2 separate regions of the Homo sapiens genome follow, and region 2 is linked to region 1. The links are contacts of gene promoters, found by promoter capture Hi-C in blood cells and fetal thymus (Javierre and others, 2016). All regions are on one chromosome and are shown on one strand. The core of a region is centred on a gene start or on the middle of the fragment in contact, and the rest is flanking DNA. Distances in the headings are between cores, read along the strand shown. Region 1 holds the start of NT5DC1 (5'-nucleotidase domain containing 1). Region 2 overlaps HDAC2 (histone deacetylase 2).

Region 1 (5,250 bases), core at 725-3,224:
TTTTTGCCTACTGTGTAAGGCTGCCTGGAGGCCTGCGTGTTGATCTCTGTATCCTCAGCTCTAGCATGGTGCTCAGCACACTGTGGGACTTAAAATAAAAAAGATTTCCACACCAAACATGATCCAAAACTCAATAGGTTACTGTTTTCAAGCTTTAAACATCACTTATTCTCCAGGTTTGCAGTAAAAAAACCTCTTGTCTTTGAGAATCTTATATTCTGAAATTTTATGATCACCTATGGACAACACTAGCTCTAACATGACAGTGGTTTAACAATATTACCTCCAAATGAAGGTAACTAAAGAGGAGACACACAAAACTGTGAACCAGGAAGGATTCGAAAGACACAGAGGGAAGGAAAACATGTATCAAAGACCTAGGGGAAGCAGTGGCCAAAGAATCAAGCAGTAAAAAAGCCTTCTTAATTCTCAATGTGACTAAGGAAACCAGACCTGTAAGGTAAGAAAGCAGGAAAGTGTAACAGCAGAAAAAGGACATTTAAAAAAAAATTTAGCATCTGGGCATAGAAAACACACGAGAAATTCGGGCAGCCACTCTTTTTTGACCTTTAACGTGTACCTGAACTGGTGGGTGCAGGAACTGGCGGGTGCCCATAATGGGGCACAACCCTGGCTGATGTCTGCACCAGTGATCTAGAGTTCTACCCATAAACTGTGAGGTTTCCAAATAGTTTGGGTGGTAACCATAAAAGCAAACACTTGTCTTTGCCAAGGTACTATTCTAAGCATTATACATCTCTTACTCATTTAATCCTTGCAACAATCTTGTGAGGTAAATCCAATTATTAGCTCCATTTTACAGATGGGGAAACTGAGAAGCAGCACAGGTTAAGTAACTTCCTCGAAGTCACAGAGCTAGTAACAGTGGAGCTGGTGTCCTAAGCTAGGCAGTCTGGCTGAGGAGTCCTCGCTTTCACCACTGTACTCATAACCAGCTCTTTTTCTGTCTGGATGCTTAGATCTTGGACTAAAAAAATCTGGTAACTTTTCAAAATTAGTTTCCTTGGGAATTGGGAAACCAAAGGAATAGTGGAGGGAGGGCAATTAATTTGAGTGTACAGGTCTGGAAGCATGCATACTCCATGTCCCCCTCCCTCAGGGCACAGTGAGGACCCAAACTTCGCAGACTGTTGGTAGGACTGGAATGTATTCAAAGTGCACGGAGCACGTAGTCGATGCGCAATAAATATGTATTTTCTTCTCTTGATAGAAGGTAAAACTAGGGCTAAGATCTTAATGACTTTTCAACTAGTGTTCCTTTCAATACACTACACTATATACTACGCATCTCTCCCAGATTGCAGTTTAAACACTGATGGGTGGTTGATCGTGCAAACAGAAAAATGCAGCCAAAAAAAATGCAAGTACCAAATCAAGTGGCTGTGTCCACAATCAGCTGGTGTCCAGAAAGACATGCAGAGAAAGTTCCACGACGTGAGATCTTCAAGGACAGCCCTAGTCCCCCTGACCCCGCCCCTCCTCGGCCCTAGAAATCACCGATTCCCCAGCCCGGTCTTGCGCAGTTTGCCCCTCCTTCGTTCTTCCCTATCCCTCTCAACATTAGCTAATGGCTGAGGTAAATGTGCCGGTCCCCACGGCACCGGCGCGGAGCGGAGGCTGCACACTTCCGCCCCTTCTCGCCGCTGGAGGCCGCGCTCTGCGGCAAGACTCGGCCGCCGCAGGCCCCGGGCAGCGTCCGCCGTTGCCCAAACCTGGAGGAAACTCAAGCCCCAGCCGCCATGGAGGTTGCGCGCAGTGCGCCCCGGAGCCCGCGCCACTCACCGGGGCGCTCTCGGGCAGGTTGTAGCGACACAGAGTGTGGTCCAGGTCGAATCCGACCACGTCGCAGGCGGCCAGGGAGAAGTGCTGAGCCATGGCTGCGCGGGGAGCACCAGGGAGCGCCTCGGCCGCGAAGGGTGCAAGGAGCTGGCTGGCGGGACGCTGCGGGACAGGACCGGGCCGGACGCGGCGGGGCGGGGCTGCGGCTGCCAGGGCACACGGCGCGGCAGCCTCTCCCGCCTCCCGCGCCCTCGAGCACCGCCCCTCGATACGCTTAGCCCCCGCCCCTCGCGCGGCGGGCGTCCTGCGCCGCCCGGAGTCAGGTAGTCAGCTCGCGTCCTCCTGGTACCCCAATGCCGGCGACTCCTGATCTGTTCCGCAAGCCTAGGAGCCCAGAAGGCAGTAGGGGTCCAGGAGCGGTGCCGCTGCTGCACAGCTGAGACCTGTAGGCACGTAGCCTTTCCCGAGGGCTACCACAAAATTAACCGGGACACTCCATCGCCTCAGGGCGCCTCGGAAACCAGGAGATCATGAGGTTAGACCTGACCTTTTACCCCTGTGTGAGGAATAGTAAGATCATAGAAAAAATTCATCCGCTAATATCCCTCTGACCCAGTTAGCCTACAATTTGGAAGGTCTTTTCACCCACGTGATCTTTGATAGTGGTTTAAACCAAAAACTTTATATTCCTTGGTTTCCTAAGTGGTTAAGTGGAAGACAGACCTTTCACTATTTCATACCCTGGAGTGCGTTAGAAAATAAATGTATCAGACATCGTGAAGAACCATTTTGCAAGATGATACTTGTTATGGAAACCAATATTGGTTATTACTTGATAATCCTATTTTGTTATTGTAATGAATTTTTTATGAAAGGGCATCAGAAACTTCATAGAAATATATAGAGCATACTACAAAAAACTTTTGCAAACCGGGTTTAAGGTTTATAGAGCACAAAATGTTTTGAGTGACATTTGCTTAATTCTCTCAAGAACTGTATAACTACTACCATTTTAGATGCAGAGAAAGTTAATCCATTACATACAATGTATGCCTTAGGGCATTTAATTCTCTTCCTGATTTCCGGATGTGAAGGACTAGCACTTTGAGATCTTTATTACATAGTACCTCATTTTAAAAAGAAAATACAAATCTATTATGTTTACACTGCTTCAGTTCTCAATTTAAAGGAACAATGTGTCTAATGGGACAAATCAATAGTCGTGACATAATGAAAATATAATTGATTGAGAACTGCATTTAACCCTTTCAAATACTAATCCTTCTGAGGCTAATAGACCAATCAGAGGATTAATTTAGTGCAATAGATAGTACAATTGAGTAGGAGGACACTTATACCTAGTAGACCCATTTGAATAAAATTGATAACTTGTTCCATTATAACACTTAAAAGCCCCAAACAAATCTCTCTGGAATAGGAAAAGTAAAGAATCTTCAAGAAGATTAAGCTGTTCACTGATGAGTCCAACAATCATGTTTTCAATGTCTGTGAACCAAAAGAGAAAAGGCTGGATTGTTGGAGAGGCTGGAAAAAGCTTGTTGGCCCTGGAGCATTGACCTTGGCATTCTCCTCTGCACCTTGCAATAGAATGCTACCAAAGTCAAACTTCCAGGTGCATGCCACATTGAAGGGCACATGTTTCCTTGGGGAATATCTTGTTTCATGTGGGAGTAGGTGCTTTAGGTACTTTAGGGACTTCCCTTAGTAATACAAATGTACTAGTACATTCATTGTAAGAGGGAAGAGTATAAAAGGATTGTTTTTTGTTGACTTAGCAAAAACTTCTCCTTACAAAACCTCTTGAGTGTGCTGAATTGTGAACAGGAAATTGACTTGGGGTAAGGGGAGAGAGGGAACCAGGGCACTCTTAAAGAGAAAAAGACCCCTGGGTCGATAACCAAGTGGTCCTGGGACTGGATCTGGCTATTACATGCACATCAACAATCTTATGTACTTGCTGATTAACAAATTATATATATTCTGCATGTTTGCACAAACAGTTCTTGTGCTAGAGAGTCCACATCATTTAAACTTTGTGGGAGAATTTTGCAAATGATCCAATCCTAGAGGCTTGTACTCTTTCTTGAGCCCCACTCACCTTTCCTTTGTACCTCAAACCTCAGTCTGACTCTTCCAGAAATATAGGGGATGGTTCCCTTCTCTTCTCCCATTCCCTACATAACCCTGAGTTTAAATACAAACACTCAGTTTAATTGTTTCATAAGGCTTATTTTTGGATAAAGATATTTCATTTTCCCTGCACATTAAACTTTTATCACACTTACTGATAAAATGCCACAGCTCTTGTATTATCAACTACAAGTTCAGTCTTCTACTTAGATACCAATTAATTTCTGTTTCTTTGAGTATCATGGACTGAATTTTGTCCCCCACTCATTCATGTGTTGAAGACCTAACCCACAATGTGTTTATATTTGACATAGGGCCTTTAAGGAAGTAATTAATGTTAAATAAGGCCATAAGGGTGGAGCCCTAATCCAACAGGATTAGCATTCTTGTAAGAAGAGGAAGGGGCACCAGAGTTTTCAAGCACACAAGAAAGGCCATGTGAGGAGCCACAAAACCACGGCTGTCTGCCTGGCGTCGTGGCACACACCTGTAATCCCAGCACTTTGGGAGGCCAAAGTAGGCAGATCGCTTGAGGTAAGGAGTTCAAGACCAGCTTGGGCAACATAGCGAGACCCATCTCTAGAAAAAATACAAAAATTAGCAGGGTATGGTGGCAGGCACCTATAGTCCTAGCTGTTGTAGGGGCTGGGGTGGGAGGATCGCTTGAACCTGGGAGGCAGAGGTTGCAGTGGGCTGGAATCAGGCCATCGCACTCCAGCCTGGGTGACAGAGAGAGACCCTGTCTTTTAAAAAAAAAAAAAAAAAAAAAAAAAAAGCTGTCTGTAAGCCAAGGAGAGTGGCTTCACCAGAAACCAACCCTGACAGCGCCTTGATCTTGGACTTTGAGCCTCCAGAACTGTGAGAAAATAATTTTTTGTTGTCTAAACCCCATTGTGTGGTATTCTGTTAAGGCACGCTGAGCCAACTAAGGCAGTTAATAAGGATAATTGACTCAAATCAGTGTTGTGTTAAATGTAGGAAATATTTGCCATTTGAAAGGTCTGTAAAGGACATGAACTTGGGTTTATGTTATTTGTTGACTTCTTGAAGTTGGGTACTTTTGCTTATGTGTAACATTAATACCATGCTGTGAAGTTTTAGAGTTTTTTTGTTTTTAGTATTTCATGTACTGTTTTTTCTTATACTTATGAGTTATGTAATAATTTAGAAATATTCAGAAACAGGAAGTTATATTACAGCCGATTTTCTAGAATTAAATTTCATTATTACAATTGATCTGCTTTTAATTGAGGTGGTACTATAATTTAGCAATTTTAACCTTAGGTGTGACTTGTGATT
Region 2 (5,274 bases), core at 428-2,927, 2.1 Mb after region 1:
TCTCTTTTTAGTTAAAAAGGATTAATCTTTTAATGACTGATACATATAAAATAACCACCTGTGTCATTTGGGGAAAATCTGAAATCTTACAGAACAAATCTAAATTGATCTGCGATAGCTAGGACAGAATAATAACAGCCCTACTTTTAAAAATGATTTTTCAGAGGACTAGATATGCATTATATAAGTTGATTTGAAATTATGCCATCGTGGAGGGGTGGAGATGGAAATACATTTTAATTTCAACATGATTTACATTGCATATTTTGGGTTATTCTTGCCCTGCATTCCCTGATCAAATTGGAAAGGAAGTAACCCTGCGTATAAGTTAATTTGTAAAATTACATTGTTTCTAAAGTTTAGAGATTTATCCTTGTCAGGGCTTGGAGTAAAGAGGAAAATTTTGGTTAGGGAAAGTGGTACTGAGGTCCTTCTCGAAGCTGTCAGTTGGTGTTGGTAGTGATGGGCTCTGAGGAAGTAAGCTGCTTGTAATTTGTTGTCACCACAATGGAACCCTAGAACCAGGAGGGTACACTTGAGTAGCAGTTTCTGAACAGCGCTCTTGTCCTGGGCCCATTTATGATAACCTTCGTTGTGGGAATGGGAGCAGGCACGGGTACCCGGGAAAGGATGCAAGCTTGATAAGTAGGGTGGAAATATTTGTCTTGTGATTGTGACTTAATATGATACTTTATTGTAGCCCATTCACCTGCTTACGTGATGGCCAGCAACAAGTGAATAGCTGATAGTTTGGAAATCTCTGGTGGGTTATTTTGTCTTTTGTCTGTGACTCGTTTGTTAAAGTGGAGTTCCTAGTTGCTTATGTTTCACATACTCTTTTAATTTTTGTGGGAGGGAATTAAAATATTTTGCAGAGATTATTAATGTTTATATTATGCTAATTATTAATATGTGATAGTGTGCTGACCTCATCCAAAAACTTATATTTTTATTACCAGAGAACATTGTTTTGTCAGCTTACAAAAGTAGCAATACTAATTCTTTTTTTATTGTGAGAAGAGAATGCAAGGAAAGGAGCTTCTGTATCAAAGAATCGTGACTTTAAGGTATATAACATGGATTGGATTGGGAATGGGTTATATCTGTAGTAATAGGGTCTGAATTATCTGCTAGCCTAGGTTAGATGGTTTTAACTTCTTGGTAAAGGAAGTAGAAGGAAGAAAGTGAGTGAAAAAGAAAAGGACGGAAGTAGCAAATTCTATAACCATAGGAATCCTACCTTTAGGCTTCCTGGGGCTGTTAGGCACACGGAGCCTCTTGGCCACACAGAATGTCTGCCACTGAGGCTGTTTGCATCTTAATGAAAGAACTTTTAAATATATACATATTGTTCTCTGCACGTTATGTAATCTTCAGGTAACCCTTTAGGTCACTGAAACGTTGGTCCCAAGGGAACCTTCAGACATTGATGGATTAGGTATCCTTAAACCTTTGAAGAAAAGTAAGAGAAGTTATTACTTCTCTGACTGTAGCTATTGATCCATGCCTCCAAATTCCCAAAAACATACTTCTGAATCATGTTCCTTCTTTATACACTAGAAGATCATCAAGAATCTGTAAAATGATACAGCTAATTAGATAGTCACTAAGATCCCTTCTGGGCCTTAAAACGATGTGATTTTTCTCTACTTAAATATAATTAGCAGCTAAGCTGTGTTAGGCTCTAGTTATACCACTCACATTTTTAATACTGTATCTAGACATGTTTATGCTTTGTTTTGAATTAATCTTGAGGCCAAACATATTTAGTGCTTGTTTTTATGGTGTATACAGTATAATAGGGTTTATATACCTAATTTATGTAACTATACACAAATTTCTCTGTGCTCTATTTTTTCCTCCTCTGAGAGGGATGCATAATCAGTTTTGGAGACAAGTGGTCCAGAAAAAAACACTCAAAGACTGTATACAGATAAAACTATATAAATACAAAAGTTATCAAGATTAGGCCAGGTGTGGTGGCTCATGCCTATAATCTCAGCACTTTGGGAGACTGAGGCAGGCAAATCACCTGAGGTCGGGAGTTTGAGAAGAGCCTGGCCAACATGGCGAAACCCCGTCTCTACTAAAAATACAAAAATTAGCCAGGCGTGGTGGCAGGCACCAGTAGTCCCAGTTACTCGGGAGGCTGAGGCAGGAGAATGGCTTGAACCCAGGAGGTGCAGGTTGCAGTGAGCCAAGATAGTGCCATGGGCAACAAGAGCGAAACTCCGTCTCAAAAAAAAAAGTTACCAAGATGATACCTCCCAACGTACTCCTTCTTCAGCAAATTATAGAAATTCTACTTGGCAGCCAACGATTGTCAGATTTTCTTAGACTTGTATTTATGAGTAGTACCAAAGTCTTTTGCTGAATAACCTTTAATACAACTACATGGGTTCTTAGCTGTGGTATAAATCTTTATTATCCGTGAAATAGGTAATAATTTCTTTGGAGGCAAATAAGTGCTAAATTAATTATAGCAGCAGTTCATAAATACCAGTAATACTAATTGCACAATAAAACATGACTAAATAAGACTGAAATTTTCCTATACTTCTCTTTCCCCAGAAATCTTTTGCCTCTCTTTTCTTTCAAATTTTACCTCATCAGAGATGCTTTCTCCTATTACCTAAGTCCCTGTTATTGCCTTATTTTTCTTCCTTTTGGTTGTACCATATAACTTTTGTCTCTCTCCTCACTATAACATAAGCTTCATTAGGACAGTCTGTCTGTTTTGCTTGTGTTTGTATCTTCGCCAACTACATTTAAAAACGTAGCTTTTTTTTTTAATTAGTGATGAATAAATTATTAATTCCTTATACTTTTTTTTTTTTTTTGAGATGGAATTTTGCTCTTATTGCCCAGGCTGGAGTGCAGTGGCGTGATCCCAGCTCACTGCAACCTCCACTACCCTCCCGGGTTCAAGTGATTCTCTTGCCTCAGCCTCCCAAGTAGTTGAGATTACAGGCACGTGCCACCACCCCTGGCTAATTTTTGTATTTTTTAGTAGAGATGGGGGTTTTACCATGTTGGCCAGGCTGGTCTCGAACTCCTGACCTGGGGTGATCCACCCACCTCAGCCTCCCTAAGTGCTGGGATTACAGGCGTGAGCCACTGTGCCTGGCCAATTCCTTATTCTTATAGATAGAACGCTTTCATATAACGTTCCCTCTAATTCTTGAAACTACTCTGAACTACATTTAGGTAGGATGGGTGGCATTTTGGCATTTTTGGTATTGTTTAGATGAAAACAGATTCACATTTGTTTGGTGCAGTCTACCACTTTTCCTTTTCCACACTGACTGTAGTTTTAATGTTCAAGGAGAGTTCAACATCCGGAATCTTTATTTTTCTTTTTTCCTTTTCAAAGTGTTTCCTCTGCTACCAAACAAACAAAACTCCTTAACAAAAACTTTAAATGCTTCTGTTGACAAGTCCTTAAAGGAAAACACTTGGGATTGGAGAAGGCATCTCTTAGGGAATGTTAATAAATTCAAACTTGGAAGAATTCAAATCAAGTCTAAGGATTTTTTTGTACTGGTTATTAAGCCTTATTCCTCTGTATTTCAGTAGCAGTCTGCTTATTGTTACTTGTTCATTAAGCCAGCTTTGGGTTCAGACATATCAAATAGGCTTAAAGTTCCTACTGTGTGCCAAATAGACAAAAGATTGCTCAAGTCCTAAGAAGGAAATAAAAGACTGCAGGTATAAAGTAAGAGAGGGGGCCGGGTGCAGTGGCTCACGCCTATAATCCCAGCACTTTGGGAAGCCGAGGCGGGCAGATCACAAGGTCAGGAGTTTGAGACCAGCCTGGCCAACATGGCGAAACCCTCTCTCTACTAAAAATACAAAAAAAAGTTAGCTGGGCATGGTGACGGGTGCCTGTAATCCCAGCTACTTGGGAGGCTGAGGCAGGAGAATCGCTTGAACCCGGGAGGCAGAGAGGTTGCAGTGAGCCGAGATCATGCCATTGCACTCCAGCCTGGGTGGGTGGCAAGAGCAAGACTCTGTCTCAAAAAAAAAAACAAAAAAAGTAAAAGAGAGGGGACCTTTGATAGTGTAATCAGAAAAGGGAAGACCTGAAGGAAGAGAATGGGCCAGCCTTAAAAAGAGTTTACTACATAAGATATTACAAATAGCAAAGCCAGATAGTTATTAATAGAACTTGGTGCACTTAATGGGAAGGAAGACAAGGAAAATGTGGAGTCCCATGTTAGGCAGTAAAAAGTGGGACTGCACAAAACTGTGTAGTAAGAAATTTGACTTTACCCAGAGGTGGAAAGCCATTGAAAGTTTCTCAAATAGAATGCATTCTCTCAAAATAATTGGTAAGGAGTTGTGGAATATAGGCTGGAAGCAAGAATTGAACACATATTGGTCCATATAAAATGTAATGGTTGCATTTTAGATAGAAATAGACATATTTAAGAGAGATTTGGGCCTCAAACCAATAGAACTTTTTGATGGATTAGAAATGGAGTTGGAGCTGAGGAATGGTGTTAGAGAATGAAGGATGACTCCTAAGTTTCTGGATTGAGCAGTTAGGTGGTATGTGGTACTACTCACTAAGATTGGGAATACAAATAAAGAGCTCTGTTTTGAACATCTTATATTTGAGATCCTTATTGAATTCAAGTGAAAAGACTGAGAAGAGAGTTAACCTCTGTGAGTTTATAATCCAGAGAGGAGAGTCTAGACATAGAAATTTGGGATTTCTCAGCTTATATCAGGTGAAGTATTGAGACTGAAAAAGATACAGCATAGACAGACGACTGGTCCCAGGACTTAACTCCCGAGAGAAGAGAATTTAGGGCAGAACTATTGTTCACTGATGAACCCAAACCCTTAGAACAGTACCTGCTTGGCACATGGTAGGCTCTTGATTTATTAAATGAATGGCTGAACTGAAAACCCTTGATGTTTAAAGGTTGGTGGAGGAGTGGCCTTGGGGTACAAGTAAAATCCCAAGAAAATGGTATTATGGAAGCCAAGGCTCCGAATGTCTCAAGGAGGAATAACCTCCTTGAAATATGTATTAAAGATGTGTTAATATGTATAAAAAATGGATAGTGGGCTAAGTAGTCTGGAAGATGAAAATAATAAACTTTTTTCTTTTCTCTTGTTTTTTTTTTCCTGAGTCTCTTTTTGCAGTCAACTTATCTTTGTGGCTAAAGGTACATTTCACAGTTCTGAAATCCAAAATGACCTGAAAATTGAAAAAAATTTTGGTAACTCATTTGGAATCAAAATCTTAACCTGAATCAATGTGAG

The links. The method cuts DNA at HindIII sites, captures the fragments that hold promoters and counts their contacts. A CHiCAGO score of 5 or more calls a contact.
Region 2: a fragment that was not itself captured here is called in contact with the fragment with the promoter of NT5DC1 in region 1 in 4 of 17 cell types (total CD4 T cells, total CD8 T cells, non-activated CD4 T cells and 1 more); the score reaches 9.3 in total CD4 T cells.

What each region holds. Positions count from the first base shown.
Region 1 is chr6:116,097,577-116,102,826 of GRCh38, reverse strand. It overlaps NT5DC1 (5'-nucleotidase domain containing 1), which reads right to left and starts at 1,974. Exons shown (of 12, transcript NM_152729.3): 1 at 1,804-1,974. The coding sequence starts at 1,896. It also overlaps a transcript of FRK not described here. RefSeq lists enhancers at 1,271-1,791, 1,792-2,314 and a silencer at 1,899-2,158. The HindIII fragment of the contact is 3,203 bases long and covers 155-3,357 here.
Region 2 is chr6:113,964,123-113,969,396 of GRCh38, reverse strand. All of the region lies in intron 1 of HDAC2 (histone deacetylase 2), which reads left to right. Among named protein-coding and RNA genes, the nearest start is that of HDAC2-AS2, 2.9 kb to the left of the region's middle. The HindIII fragment of the contact is 2,076 bases long and covers 640-2,715 here.